2 separate regions of the Homo sapiens genome follow, and region 2 is linked to region 1. The links are contacts of gene promoters, found by promoter capture Hi-C in blood cells and fetal thymus (Javierre and others, 2016). All regions are on one chromosome and are shown on one strand. The core of a region is centred on a gene start or on the middle of the fragment in contact, and the rest is flanking DNA. Distances in the headings are between cores, read along the strand shown. Region 1 holds the start of SOCS1 (suppressor of cytokine signaling 1). Region 2 overlaps CLEC16A (C-type lectin domain containing 16A).

Region 1 (6,902 bases), core at 651-3,150:
TACGACTGGCTGATTTTTGTACTATTTTTTTTTTTTTTTTTTTTTTTTTGTAGAGAGGGGGTCTCACTTTGTTGCCCAGGCTGTTCTCAAACTCCTGGGCTCAAGCAATCCTCCTGTCTTGGCCTTCCAAGTGCTGGGATTATAGGCATGAGCTACTGCGCCCTGCTAGAGGTACTATTATTATCCCCATTTCACAGATAAAGAAACCATGGCAGAGAGGTTAATTACATGCTCAAGGTCACAAGAATAGAAAGGTGCAGATTTGGAACTGGGTCTCCTTGTATTCCATCACCCTCCACAGAGTGTGGCCTCCAGCAGATGTTCAGTGGACATCTCTCGAATGATCACACACCTGACCTCTGGTGCAGGCAAGGTTCTGCATCTTCTCTCACCCCCTCACGCACGCGCACGCACACACACGCACAACCTAGGAGGCTACACCAATGACCACCACCAGCCCTGGCCACATGCAGATTCAGGGCACTGATGGGGTGCTAAGCTGGGCTGATTCTGGGCCACTCCCTGTGTTCAGGAGGTTAATAAGGACCTAGGCTCTGCCTGGGGAAAGAGGTATCGTGGGGCCAGGGAGGCGGGAAGGGACTGGGCACCAGGGCTTCCAGGAGAGAAGCCGTCTGAGAGCTGTCTGTAGAGGGCAGTGTGTCCCAGTGTGAGGCCAGTAACCAAGTGCCCAGCCTAGCCAGGTTTTTATGTGGCCCCTTGTGATGCTGGGGCTCCTCACATGCCTTCATTCAAAAATACACGGAGCAGCCAGGCACCTACTCCATGGCCTCGCACGACAATCGGAATCACTAAATCACAAACACGTGTGCAAATTACAGCCCCGACCACCGACCGCCCACCATCCCAAGCCCCGGCCGTGTGTGTGGTGGGAAGGCAGTCTTTGAAGGGCAGATGCCTGACGGAGCAGTAGGAGGGGGAAATCTATGAGGAAGGGGTCGGGGGAGAGGAGGGCTAGGAAACCAGGTTTGGGGATTCATCACGTCTGAGAATGCACCATTTTTTCACTGGGCTCCAATTTGATGTCGTCCAGCTGCACCTCTCCCCAAAATGAAGACGGGGAAGGCGAGATCCAGGTCCAGAGCTCCCAATCTGCAAGCCATTGCAAATCCCAGCCCCTCCCCAGCCTCAGTTTCTTCCGCAGCCGGGTAGTGGGAGCGCAGGGAGGGCAGTCGAGGCCACCAGGGACCTTGCCCGGCCCCGCCCAGTTTCCGAGGAACTGGGCCGGGGTGGAGGCGCCCGCGCCGCCAGGGGTTCCTCTGAAGCCTGTGGTCAGGCCGCCGCTTCCCGGGAAGCCCGAGCCAAGACCAGAGACCGCGGCCGGCCGGGGCTTCGGGACAGCAGGGCGGGCGACTGAGGGCGTCGACGGCGGGTGGAGCAGGGGCTAGGAGGGGGTCTACGGGTGGGGTCAGGCTCAGGGTTGGGGACACCTTCTGTGGCCTCCTAGGGGGATCTGGCTGCAGGGGAGGAGAGGACAGGGCTCTGCCCCCGGCGGGTGTGGAGACAGCTGGGGCGGAGGAGGGTGTGTCAGGGCGCGTCCCAAGAGGGCCTGGCGGCAGAAAGTGGAACCCGAGGTAGCGGGGCAAAATCGGGGTCGCCAAGTCCGAAGGAGGGGTCCGAGAAGTGGCCGGAAGGCGCAGGGTCGGGGCCAGAGCCCCTCGAGAGGCGGGTGCTGGGGCAGGTGCGAACAGGCGGGCAGAGGGCCCCGCGGGAGGGTCCAGAAGAGAGGGAAACAGGGCCGAAGCGGTCCTCGCCGGACGCCACCGCGGAAAGAGAAACCAAAAGTGGAGCTGGGGGCGGGGCCGGCAGGGGGCGGGGCCTCCCGCCGTCGCCAGCCCCGCCTCCGAGCCGGTTTAAAAGACTGGCGCAGGGGCGGGCGCCGAACAGAGCGAGCTGCGGCCGTGGCAGCTGCACGGCTCCTGGCCCCGGAGCATGCGCGAGAGCCGCCCCGGAGCGCCCCGGAGCCCCCCGCCGTCCCGCCCGCGGCGTCCCGCGCCCCGCCGCCAGGTGAGCCGGGCCCTGGGCGAGGAGGCGGGAGGGAGGAGGGAGGGGAGTCCAGGGCAGCCAGGAGTCGGGCGAGCCTCGGGGGCTGCAGAATGGGGTCGCGGCCGCGATGCCCCTGACCCTCGCCGGCCCCACCCAGGCCGCCCCCCGCGCGCGGGGCTCCCGCAGCACAGCCTTTCTCCGGCCCTAGCCCAAATCGCCCAGACCAGGCGCGGATCCCAGCCTGGCCAGCAGGCGGCGGGCGCGGGGCGGCGAGCCGGGGCCGGACGGCTGGAGCCAGAACCGGCTGCTCTCCACGCCCCCCTCTCGGTGCTGCCCGGAGGCCGGACTCCGCCTCCACCGAGCCCCCACCCGCCGGGAAGAGCTCCGCGGAGTACAGAGCCCATTTTCTAGCTGTGTCCACTGAGGCTGAACGGATCCGCGCGGACTTGGTGCTCCGTGCTCGCCCCCTAGGGCCGGGTCCGCCGGGAGCGCCGCCCTCCGGAGTTGTCCGGCCGGCGCACACCTGCCCGGCCCCGCAGCGCCCCAGCTCACCTCTTTGTCTCTCCCGCAGCGCACCCCCGGACGCTATGGCCCACCCCTCCGGCTGGCCCCTTCTGTAGGATGGTAGCACACAACCAGGTGGCAGCCGACAATGCAGTCTCCACAGCAGCAGAGCCCCGACGGCGGCCAGAACCTTCCTCCTCTTCCTCCTCCTCGCCCGCGGCCCCCGCGCGCCCGCGGCCGTGCCCCGCGGTCCCGGCCCCGGCCCCCGGCGACACGCACTTCCGCACATTCCGTTCGCACGCCGATTACCGGCGCATCACGCGCGCCAGCGCGCTCCTGGACGCCTGCGGATTCTACTGGGGGCCCCTGAGCGTGCACGGGGCGCACGAGCGGCTGCGCGCCGAGCCCGTGGGCACCTTCCTGGTGCGCGACAGCCGCCAGCGGAACTGCTTTTTCGCCCTTAGCGTGAAGATGGCCTCGGGACCCACGAGCATCCGCGTGCACTTTCAGGCCGGCCGCTTTCACCTGGATGGCAGCCGCGAGAGCTTCGACTGCCTCTTCGAGCTGCTGGAGCACTACGTGGCGGCGCCGCGCCGCATGCTGGGGGCCCCGCTGCGCCAGCGCCGCGTGCGGCCGCTGCAGGAGCTGTGCCGCCAGCGCATCGTGGCCACCGTGGGCCGCGAGAACCTGGCTCGCATCCCCCTCAACCCCGTCCTCCGCGACTACCTGAGCTCCTTCCCCTTCCAGATTTGACCGGCAGCGCCCGCCGTGCACGCAGCATTAACTGGGATGCCGTGTTATTTTGTTATTACTTGCCTGGAACCATGTGGGTACCCTCCCCGGCCTGGGTTGGAGGGAGCGGATGGGTGTAGGGGCGAGGCGCCTCCCGCCCTCGGCTGGAGACGAGGCCGCAGACCCCTTCTCACCTCTTGAGGGGGTCCTCCCCCTCCTGGTGCTCCCTCTGGGTCCCCCTGGTTGTTGTAGCAGCTTAACTGTATCTGGAGCCAGGACCTGAACTCGCACCTCCTACCTCTTCATGTTTACATATACCCAGTATCTTTGCACAAACCAGGGGTTGGGGGAGGGTCTCTGGCTTTATTTTTCTGCTGTGCAGAATCCTATTTTATATTTTTTAAAGTCAGTTTAGGTAATAAACTTTATTATGAAAGTTTTTTTTTTAAAAAAAAATAAGTTTTCTAGCGAGTGTGCTTTGGCCAAAAGTTTAACTTGGTTCTGAACAGGTCCAGGGGAGAGGGTCCTAAGGCTGACCTGCTGGGCTGCAGGTGGTGTACGGGGCCTGCCCTGTGGCTGGGCATCCCTCACGGTTCCACCCACAACTCTCCAGGGAGAGAAACGGTTGGTCTAGTTTTGGCGTGTGTCCGGTAAGACAGCAGCTCGCGTTTGAGCACTTTGTGCGTGCCAGCCCTAATTCTGTGCTTTGCATACTTAAATTTACTTAATCCTATAAAGAGAGGCACAACCCTGTGAGGCACGGGCTCTTATTTCCATTCTACAGAAGGGAAAACTGAGTAAATCTGCCTGTGGCCATTCCTGTCAAAGACAACACTTGGGCCTTTTTTTGGCTGTCCACTAAACATCTGCTTGAAATGGATAACAGAGAGGAAACTTCTTTGGTTCTATGACCACAACAGCTTCCAGGAAGGGGTGGGGGTGGGGGCTTAGTGAGTTTTTGGACAGAGGAGTGGCACATTCTGAACCAGCATCAAGGGATACTCAGTTGAGATGAGATGGGGGATACAGGGCTGGGTCTAGCTTCCTTCTTCTCACCCTGCTCTGTCTTGTGTACTTTTTGGTGAACACACAACTTGGAGCCAGAAGGAGACTGTGTGGTCTGTGGTGGCGGGAGGGTGCTGCTGGCGGCTAGGGCAATTCCCCTTGCCTCCCTGGGCCTCCACCTTTCTAAGGGCAACTTTCTGCGCATCATAGAGGAGGTGGATGTTTTCAGGAGCCAGGGAAGGGAAGAGTGGCTCCAGGACGTTTGTGGGGCTGGCCCACAGCACCAGAAAGTGTCCAGGACCTGGGTTTCTGGCAACTTCTGTGTCTTTGGCCAGCCTGACACATGGGCCATGGTGGTAACTTGAGGGTTGTACTCAACACATGGTGAACTGAGTCATTTTCAGATTTAGGGTTAAGCAGCCTGGTGGACACGTCATACTTCATCTTTAGAAGATAGAGTGGCCCTCTTCAGCCTTGGAGACACATATAATAGTGTTCTAATGCTTAATAATACTTTTCAGACTTGAAAGTACAACATAAAATTAACTTGATGGTCAGAGAGTCAGAGCAGCCCAGGCCTGTCTTGGGGATTAAGTAGGCTCCAGGACTTTAAGGATGGCCAGAAGAGATTTAGGATCTCAGAGAGCTTTGGCAATTTCATCCCTTAATAAGGTGAAGTGGGAGGGAAGGAGGTGATGTCTTGTCTCTATCTCCAAAAATCTTGCTTTTTCTTTTCTTTTCTTTTCTTTTCTTTTCTTTTTTTTTTTTTGCCACACCCCTGCCCTTTCTTCTCTGCTGTGGATTAATTAAGTCCTGTCCTTGTTCTTTCCTGTCTGTTGCCTGCTGTGGGCAGTGTCTGGAGAAACAGAAATCCAAGATGGCAATGCTTGGGGATCTGGTTGTAATACTAGTATACTCACAGACCCTTAGTGACCACTCAGTGGCTGTGCTGGCCCCATTTTACAGATGGGAAAACGGGCTCCAAGAGGCAAAGCAGGACCACAACAAGGGGTGGAGCCAGGTTTTGCAAACCCACTCAGGACTTTTTCAGAGGCTGGGTACCACTAGGCAACCGGAGGACCTAACCGCTGCAGTAATAATAGCAGCTGCTCATATTTCTATGTAGCATTGTCTGTGCAGGAACTGCTCCCAGGTCCCGCATCACCTGTGTAAAACATTGAACTCACACCCAGCCTTCCGATGTAGGGACTGTGAACATCCCCGTTTTACAGATGGGAAAACAGGTCCTCCTCAAAAGAGGGGTCAGCTAGCAGGTAGCTTGCAATATGTTACAGTTTTTTTTCCTCCTTTGAAAAAAGTATGAAAATCGTATTTTCCTTACGCAAGTGTTGGGTATCCAAACCCATTCCCCTTGCAGAACTTGAAGCAGAACAGCTAAGAGTAAAGGCCCCCTCTGATCACACTTCCCAGAGCTGGCCCCTTCCTCCCTTTATGAGTCACTTAAATCCATACTAACATAGGTACAGTGACCTAAAGCCCTGGGAGCTGCACCCCACGTCCCGTGTGACAAAGTGTGTGCAGGCATCACTGAAGGGGGAAAAGGCTGTGTGTGTGTGTGTGTGTGTGTGTGTGTTTGTGTGTGTGCGCGCGCACCAGCGCCATGTGGCTTCCCGGGTGGTGCAGATTCTGTCTCTCTCTCAAACCTCAGCTTCATGATTCAGCAGCGCTGACGTCAATTTACAAGAATGAAAAGTGAGAGGAGGGTTTGTGTGTGCAAGAGACTGAGTTGGGGGCCCAGGTGCAGTGGAGGTGTCCTCCCCACTGAGCGGGTGAGCCAGGGCAGTGTGGGGCGGGCACCATGGGAAAGGAGGCACTCTTTGGAATGACAAGGACTGTGTGTGGGTGTGGGGACAGCCTGTGACCAGCCTCCAAGCCACCCTTGAGCTGAAAACTCTGGCCCCCGTTTTCCAGATGAGGAAATGGAGGCTCAGACAAGTGCAGCCACCTACTCAAGGTCACACAGCTCGTAAGTGATGGCCAGGACTTGGACCAAATCCATCCCACTCTAAACAACAAGACAGGTTTCTTCTTCTTTTTTTTTTTAAGACAGAGTCTTGCTCTGTCACCTAGGCTGGAATGCAGTGGCGAGATCACAGGTCACTGCAGAATCAAACTCCTGGGTTCAAGCAATCCTCCCGCCTCAGCGCAGGGACTGAGTAGCTGGGACTACAGGTGTGAGCCACCACACCCATCTAATTTTCTTGTTTTTGGTAGAGAGGGGGCCTCGCTATGTTGCCCAGGCTGGTCTCAAACTCCTGGGTTCAAGCGATCCTCCCACCTCAGCCTCCCAGAGTGTTGGGATTACAGGCAGGAATCACTGTGCCCAGCGCAGGATGGGTTGCTTAAATAGTGGGAGAGGGGATGGGATAAGGGAGGAATCTGGTGAAAATGCATATTCCTAGGCCTCAGCCTACTTGATCCTCCCAACCTTATGAGTAGGTACTGTCATTATCCCAGGAAGCGGCGAACTGAGCCTCTTCTATGACATAATAGGTAGAAAGTGCTTAGCGCACAACTTAGCATGCAGTAGGCGCTAAATACATCTCTGAATGATGCGGTGCCAATAATGATAGTTGAGGTTAATATAGCAAACACTGACTGAGCACCTCCTACGTTACAGGCATTATCCTTTTCCT
Region 2 (6,691 bases), core at 2,894-5,393, 270 kb after region 1:
GTGTCTGTTTCCACATTCATCAGTCCAGAGACAGCTCGTAAGCCCAGGGAAGAAGGTCCCAGGTAGGAGGTGGAAGGTCACTGCGCAGCCTTAGGAACTAAGGTCATTATAATGATAACATCTAATATTTATGCACTTGCTGTGTACATAAAAAGGCTTTGGAGTAAGCACTTTACACGGCACTTAATTCTCATCATAAACCCATGTTTGCTATTCTCACTGGAGAGGTAAGAAACTGAGGCCCGGGAACACCTAGTAAAATCAGGGACCACGATTTGAGGAGCCCAGGGAAACTGGTTACAGCACCCACTCCACAAGGCTGCCTCTGGAGGTGGAACATGGAACAGCACCAAAAGCAGCCCACTGCAAACCCAGCCACTGAGGCAAAGAGAAGGCGGCATTCAAGGGGCAGGCTAGGAAGTGACTTCTGCTCTGAGAGTCATTACAAGAATGTCACGAGAGCCCTTGTGACTCTGCTACCACTTCACCCACTGAGTCATTCACTCCTGCACCGAACACCTCCCTGGGCATCTCTGGCAAGCCCCATGATGGCACAGGTGGCACAGGCATCTCCGAGACATGGTCCCTGTCCTCATGGGAGGAGGGAAGCCCAGGGAGGGCAGGGGTCAGGTCGTTCCAGTGCACCACCACATCCCTCATCTCTCAGCACAAGTACACAACAGATGGCTGCTGAAGGAATGGATGAATAGATGAATAAATGAATGAATGCAAAAATGAAGGAAACCATTCCACAGAAACCCAAGAGGAAAAAAAAGTCCTTTAAAAAAAGTACCTACAAGTAATGATGCATATCCCAAATTCTAATCTATATGTTCATTCTGCAAAAACAACGAGATGTTAGCAGTTTCAGAATTAGTGTTGTCCTACTCGATTTCCCCACACAAGAAACACTATCTGCTCTGCATTCGAATTATAGCAAGAATTAGCCTTTAGCAGGAACCATATGATTTTAACGCACAGATGAATTTCAATTAGACATTCATCTAACCATGCTGATGTGTTTTCCATTTAACCCTAAATTACAGTCCTTTCAAATAACTGTGATCTCCCCTCTGCTTCTCTCTCTTCAATTTTGGTTTGGTTTTGTGAAAGGTCTGCTGGTAAAAATGAGGCAATACCAGTAACTTATCTACAAATTACGGGAAGGAGAAAGTAGGTTAAAAAAGACCAAGAAACTTAAAACAAGTATAATCAAACCACATCCGAGTTGGGCAGGAAACAATAGGAGTCTGTTCTCGCTCATAGGGAAGGAAGGTAAATCGTACCAGGACTATTATCAAACAAGTCACAGAAGGAATTCAGCCTGTGCTCTTCCCAAACCTGAACGATAGTCATCAGATTACAACCAACTTCAACTTCACACTGAGAGAAAGGTAGTAACTGGAAGCAGAAAGCCGACACATGTGGGCTAGCAATTCCCTCCACGCTACAGAGTCTCATTTTCAGTTCAGGTGTCCACCACAACTGGCTCTTACATCCCAAAGGCAGTTTGTGTGTCTCTCACAAGGGAGGTGAGACCTTCATCCTAAGAAGAGGCCATATCAGGAGAGAGGACAGATCTCCTAAACACTTCCCCTGACTAAATGGTTGAGCTACAGCCAGTGTCCTAAACTGAGAGGTTGCCAGTAACCCGCAGTTTGCTTTTGCTCAAACATAAATCCTATGTATCACTGTCAATATCCTGCTTGTGAGGGTGTACTAGAGTTTTGCAAGATGTTACCACTGGGGGAAACTGAGGAAGATCTCTCTGTATTATCTGTTACAACTGCACGCAAATCTATAATTATCTCAGTAAAAAATTTCAATTAAAAAAAAAACTGCATAAAAGCTGGGTGCAGTGGCTCACACCTGTAATCCCAGCACATTGGGAGGCTAAGACGGGCAGATCACTTGAGGCCAGAAGTTCAAGACCAGCCTGGCCAACATGGTAAAATCCCATCTCTACTAAAAATACAAACAAAATTAGCTGGGTGTGGTGGTGCATGCCTGTAGTCCCAGCTATTCGGAGGCTGAGGCACGAGAATCACTTGAACCCTGGAGACAGAGGTTGCAGTGAGCCGAGATCACGCTACTGTACTCCAGCCTGGGCGACAGAGCCAGACTCTGTCAAAAACAAAACAAAACAAAACACACCAAAAAAAAAATCAAAAAAACTAAAACTGCATAATGATGGATAAATGGATAAAGAAAGAAAAAGAAAATGTGGTATATTTCTTGGTACACACACACACACACACACACACACACACATTGAGCCTTAAAGAAATAAATTCTGATATATGCGACAACATGGATGAATCTCGAGGACATTACATTAAGTGAAATGAGCCAGTGACAAAGACAAATGCTGCACGATTCTACTTATACGAGGTATCTAAAATTGTCAAACTCATGCAGAGAGGAGAATGGTGATTGCTGGGGCTGGGGGGATGGAGAGTTGTTGTCCAGTGGGTATGAAGTATCAGTCATGCAGGTGACTCCACAGAGCAATGGATAGCACATTGTACTTCTGAAGTTTCAGTATGCAAGATAAATGAGATCTAGAAATCTGCTGAATGATGCTGTGCCTACACTCAACAATAATGTTAACCATACAAATAAAAATGTGTTAAAAGGGTAGATCTCATGTTGTGTTCTTATCACAACTCTAAAAATGCAGCAGGCCGGCTCATGCCTGTAATCTCAGCACTTTGGGAGGCTGAGGCGGGTGGATCACGAGGTCAGGAGATTGAGACCATCCTGGCTAACATAGTGAAACCCCGTCTCTACTAAAAATACAAAAAATGAGCCGGGTGTGGGGGCAGGCGCCTGTAGTCCCAGCTACTTGGGAGGCTGAGGCAGGAGAATGGCGTGAACCCGGGAGGCAGAGCTTGCAGTGAGCTGAGATCGTGCCGCTGTACTCCAGCCTGGGCGACAGAGCGAGACTCAGTCTCAAAAAAAAAAAAAAAAAAAAAAAAAAAAAAAAAAAATTCTGCAGGCCAGGTGCAGTGTCTCACACTTGTAATCCCAACACTTTGGGAGGCCAAGGCAGGCAGATCAGTTGAGCTCAGGAGTTCAAGAGCAGCCTGGCCAACATGGTGAAAGCCCATTTCTACTAAAAATACAAAAATTAGCTGGGCGTGGTGGCACATGCCTGTAATCCCAGCTACTTGGGAGGCTGACGCTTGAACCCAGAGGCAGAGGCTGCAGTGAGCCGAGATCACGCCACTGCACTCCAGCCTGGGCGACAGAGACTCCATCTCAAAATAAATAAATAAATAAAAATAAATAAACAATGCTGCAAACCCCAGAGCCCAGCAATCTCTGGTTTCATCTCTTAGAACGACAAGTCTAGCTTCAGCACTGCAGAGGGTATCTTACAGTAAGACAATCTGAGATGAAGCCACGGCAGCTATCCTCAGGCTTGGAAATCATGCAACTAAAAAAAAAAAAAAGTCCCGAGGGACCCAGTACATCTCCAGTTGCTATTAACATATTAACATCAATGTAGTCCCAGTTAGCAGTGGGCAGGTTTCACGGTAAACACGCCTCATCTGATGGGGGCAGGCTCTGCGAAGCTTCCCGTAGAAACGTGCATTGATGGGGACCAGATCTTCTGACTGTTGGAGAAGATTCCAAAAATCTGGACTTTTCTTCCTAAATTTTAATGTTGGCAATTCAGAAAATTTTCTTTTAAATACTGCAAAGACCAAACCAAATGAGTCTGGTGGCCAGTTTGCAACCCAGCAGGCACTTGATGGGCACTATATATATATATATATTTTTTTTTTTTTTTTTTTGAGATGGAGTCTTGCTCTGTCGCCCAGGCTGGAGTGCAGTGGCGCAATCTCAGCTCACTGCAAGCTCCGCCTCCTGGGTTCACGCCATTCTCCTGCCTCAGCCTCCCGAGTAGCTGAGACTGCAGGCGCCTGCCACCATGCCCGGCCAATTTTTTTTGTATTTTTAGTAGAGACGGGGTTTCACCGTGTTAGCCAGGATGGTCTCGATCTCCTGACCCGGTGATCTGCCCGCCTCGGCCTCCCAAAGTGCTGGGATTACAGGGGTGAGCCACCGTGCCCAGCGGGCACTTTATATTTTGCCCCCATCTCCATCAGCTCTCTAGAGCAGGGCTTGCGCTGCCTGTTTTCTAAATGGAGTGAAACAACCTGCCCGAGACCAGGTGGCTGGCAGGGCACTCTGCACCTCTAACTGGAGGCCCTGCTGATTCTGCTGACTCAGCCTTCCGTGACTTACATTCATTTAGCAAACGCTAGTTTAAGAAAGTTGCAGAGAAATATCTAGGGCCCCATAAACTCTGAGTCAGCTGTACATTTGCCAGACCGTGTGTTGTCATGAGATGGACCACTAGGAAAATCTTTAACACATCACCCCTGTCACCTCTAGGCCAAAGCCTCTCACCAAACACTTCTTCCCTTTAGAGCGCTTATAAGAGTTAAGACAGTGAGTTATTTGCATATCTGATCCATGTCCACCTCTCTACTGTACTGTAAAGCTCGAATACGGCACAGACTCTTTATGACATTGTGTATCCCCAGAACTAGCATGATACTTGGCCCAAAGAAAGAGCTCCATCAACACTGCTGAATGAATCAAGAAAGGGATAGGCCAGACAGGGGCCATGAAAAGGCCCCAATCAATTCACTAATGCCACCACCACTAACAAGGACAGAGTTTCTGGGAAGCTTTTCAGAGGCGCTAATGCTCCCCTGAATAACAAAATGACCTGGCCAGACCATCATACACCAAAACCAGTGGAAGGGCAGGGGCCTCTTGTAATTGTACTCCATGCAGTGGTGGCCTTTCATCCACAGGGTCACATTCCACCCATTCATGTAGGTGGGGCAGCAAATCTACTACCCCAGGGCGAGCTGGCCCTTTTACCAGCCTGGCCACTGCCTGAGCACCTGGCTGCAGAGAGGAAACCTTTATGAAACAGCCCTTGTATAAAACGCACTATGCTCATCTCACTTACCCACTCTAAGCTCCTTATGGCAGGGATCTCACCTGTCACTGAATCAGCTGCAGCCTGGGCTCCGCATAAGTGAGATGAGCATTTGTGCAGCCCAGACTGCAGCTGATTCAGTGACAGGTGAGATCCCTGCCATAAGGAGCTTAGAGTGGGTAAGACCTTTGAAAAGAGGGAACCAGGTGCATCAGGAACCAGGCTGTAGGTACGGTAAAGGCGCAGGTTCAAAGGCACAAATGCTGGACATGCTGGGGGAAAAGCAAGTCAGACCAGGATTAAGGCAGCTGGAGCTCAGGACATGTGAGCAGGATCTGAGAGATGACAGCAGAGATATACAGAGGACAAGATGGAAAAGCTTCAAGAGAAGTCACAACACTGGCCATCAGGTGTTTTCCCTCAGCAGTGTACCAAATGGAACGCCAAAGCTCCTTCCTGCAGACCACAAACATGCTACTTAGTCCAAAGCTTGATGATCATTTAAAACTAGAGATTACACGTAACAATGCGTTTTTCCCGCTTCTCTAGAAACATGAAAAAACCTAGTAATCCTACATCCATATTCCTGCAGAACAGCAGCAGCCTGGGGTAGAACAGGAGCTGCTCGCCAAGGTGGCATACACTCTCCAATTTGCCACACCCCTCGCCACTCTCTACTGCCCTCACCTGGGGCCTGAGTCATTCATGGATGTTCATCGCCCAACTTCTGTAGACATTAGTTCCTCTGATAAGGCATTTTCTCACTGTGTCCCGATAACAGTGTCTCACAGATATGCAACCTAAGGCCCGGAGTGGTACAATTCCATGTTTAAGAACACACAATCAATCAAATCCAGGTGGTCCCTGATCCCAGCTTCTCTTGGGTATGCAATCAAGACTCTGATTAGGTTCACTGAATCCCGGACCAGCTTATGCATCATCACTGCTATATATTCAGAATGTTAGTTTCTGATTTTAGAGAAACACACAGATTAGCAAAATGAGCAATGGTTTCCTGTTAAGGTCAGTCCCGAAGCTAATGACTTACAGAACTTCTCTGAATATCCTGTTCAGTCTTAGCGTACATCTCAGACAGATCACCATTCAGAATGACTTCAGCTAACGAGTTCACCAGCGGTGCATGATGTATAATTAAGAAGACCTGGCGGAAAAAAAAGAAACGGGATTTGCATGAAAGTGTGCGGTATTTTCAACCTCTTGCTTCCTGGATCAGAAGCGACCAGGCTGGGCTACCTAAGTCCTGTATTAAGCAGCAATTCCTACGATGCAAAATTCAAAGAATGAGCCACAGGAAGCAGGACTCGGTTCCACTCTTGTAAGGTCAGTCTCTCCTTCAGACTGTTGCCTATTTGGCTGGCTGCTCTTCCTCGGAAGGAAGTGCATTAATGCGAGACTGTCCCTCATGGCTGGGTGAAGCCAAATCCGGCTGAAGTGGAGCAATGCGGGAAAGAACAGCCAAACCAGCACACTCCTTCCTTTCCATGGGCATTTTAGTGTCAAATTTGGTTATGAGAAGACTAGAAGGCACTGTCCCAATACTTTAGTGATACAAGAAGAAGGGGCCGGAGAGTTTTGTTCCAATCAAGGACTTGGCAGAGGGTTGGCTACACAGAGATTCCATCACGGGAGGGAGCTCTGACCCTGTGGTGGGTTTTAGCACACGGGGATTCCACAGCATCGTCAGGAGGTATGTGAACTACGGGGCTG

The links. Contacts are between HindIII fragments. The CHiCAGO score rates a contact against its expected background, and 5 or more counts as called.
Region 2: a contact is called between a fragment that was not itself captured here and the fragment with the promoter of SOCS1 in region 1, in 6 of 17 cell types (activated CD4 T cells, M0 macrophages, total CD4 T cells and 3 more). The highest score is 11.0, in activated CD4 T cells.

The regions. Positions count from the first base shown.
Region 1 is chr16:11,251,202-11,258,103 of GRCh38, reverse strand. SOCS1 (suppressor of cytokine signaling 1) reads left to right here and starts at 1,900. Exons shown (of 2, transcript NM_003745.2): 1 at 1,900-2,025; 2 at 2,576-3,687. The coding sequence starts at 2,626. The coding sequence ends at 3,261. The region is part of intron 1 of LOC105371082 (a long non-coding RNA gene); the gene reads right to left. RefSeq lists silencers at 1,255-1,454, 1,705-2,444, 2,545-2,594, 2,605-2,754, 3,165-3,254 and enhancers at 3,865-4,034, 6,421-6,500. The HindIII fragment of the contact is 18,048 bases long and covers 1-6,902 here.
Region 2 is chr16:10,982,312-10,989,002 of GRCh38, reverse strand. It overlaps CLEC16A (C-type lectin domain containing 16A), which reads right to left. Exons shown (of 24, transcript NM_015226.3): 10 at 6,012-6,125. Among named protein-coding and RNA genes, the nearest start is that of CLEC16A, 41 kb to the right of the region's middle. The HindIII fragment of the contact is 1,125 bases long and covers 3,581-4,705 here.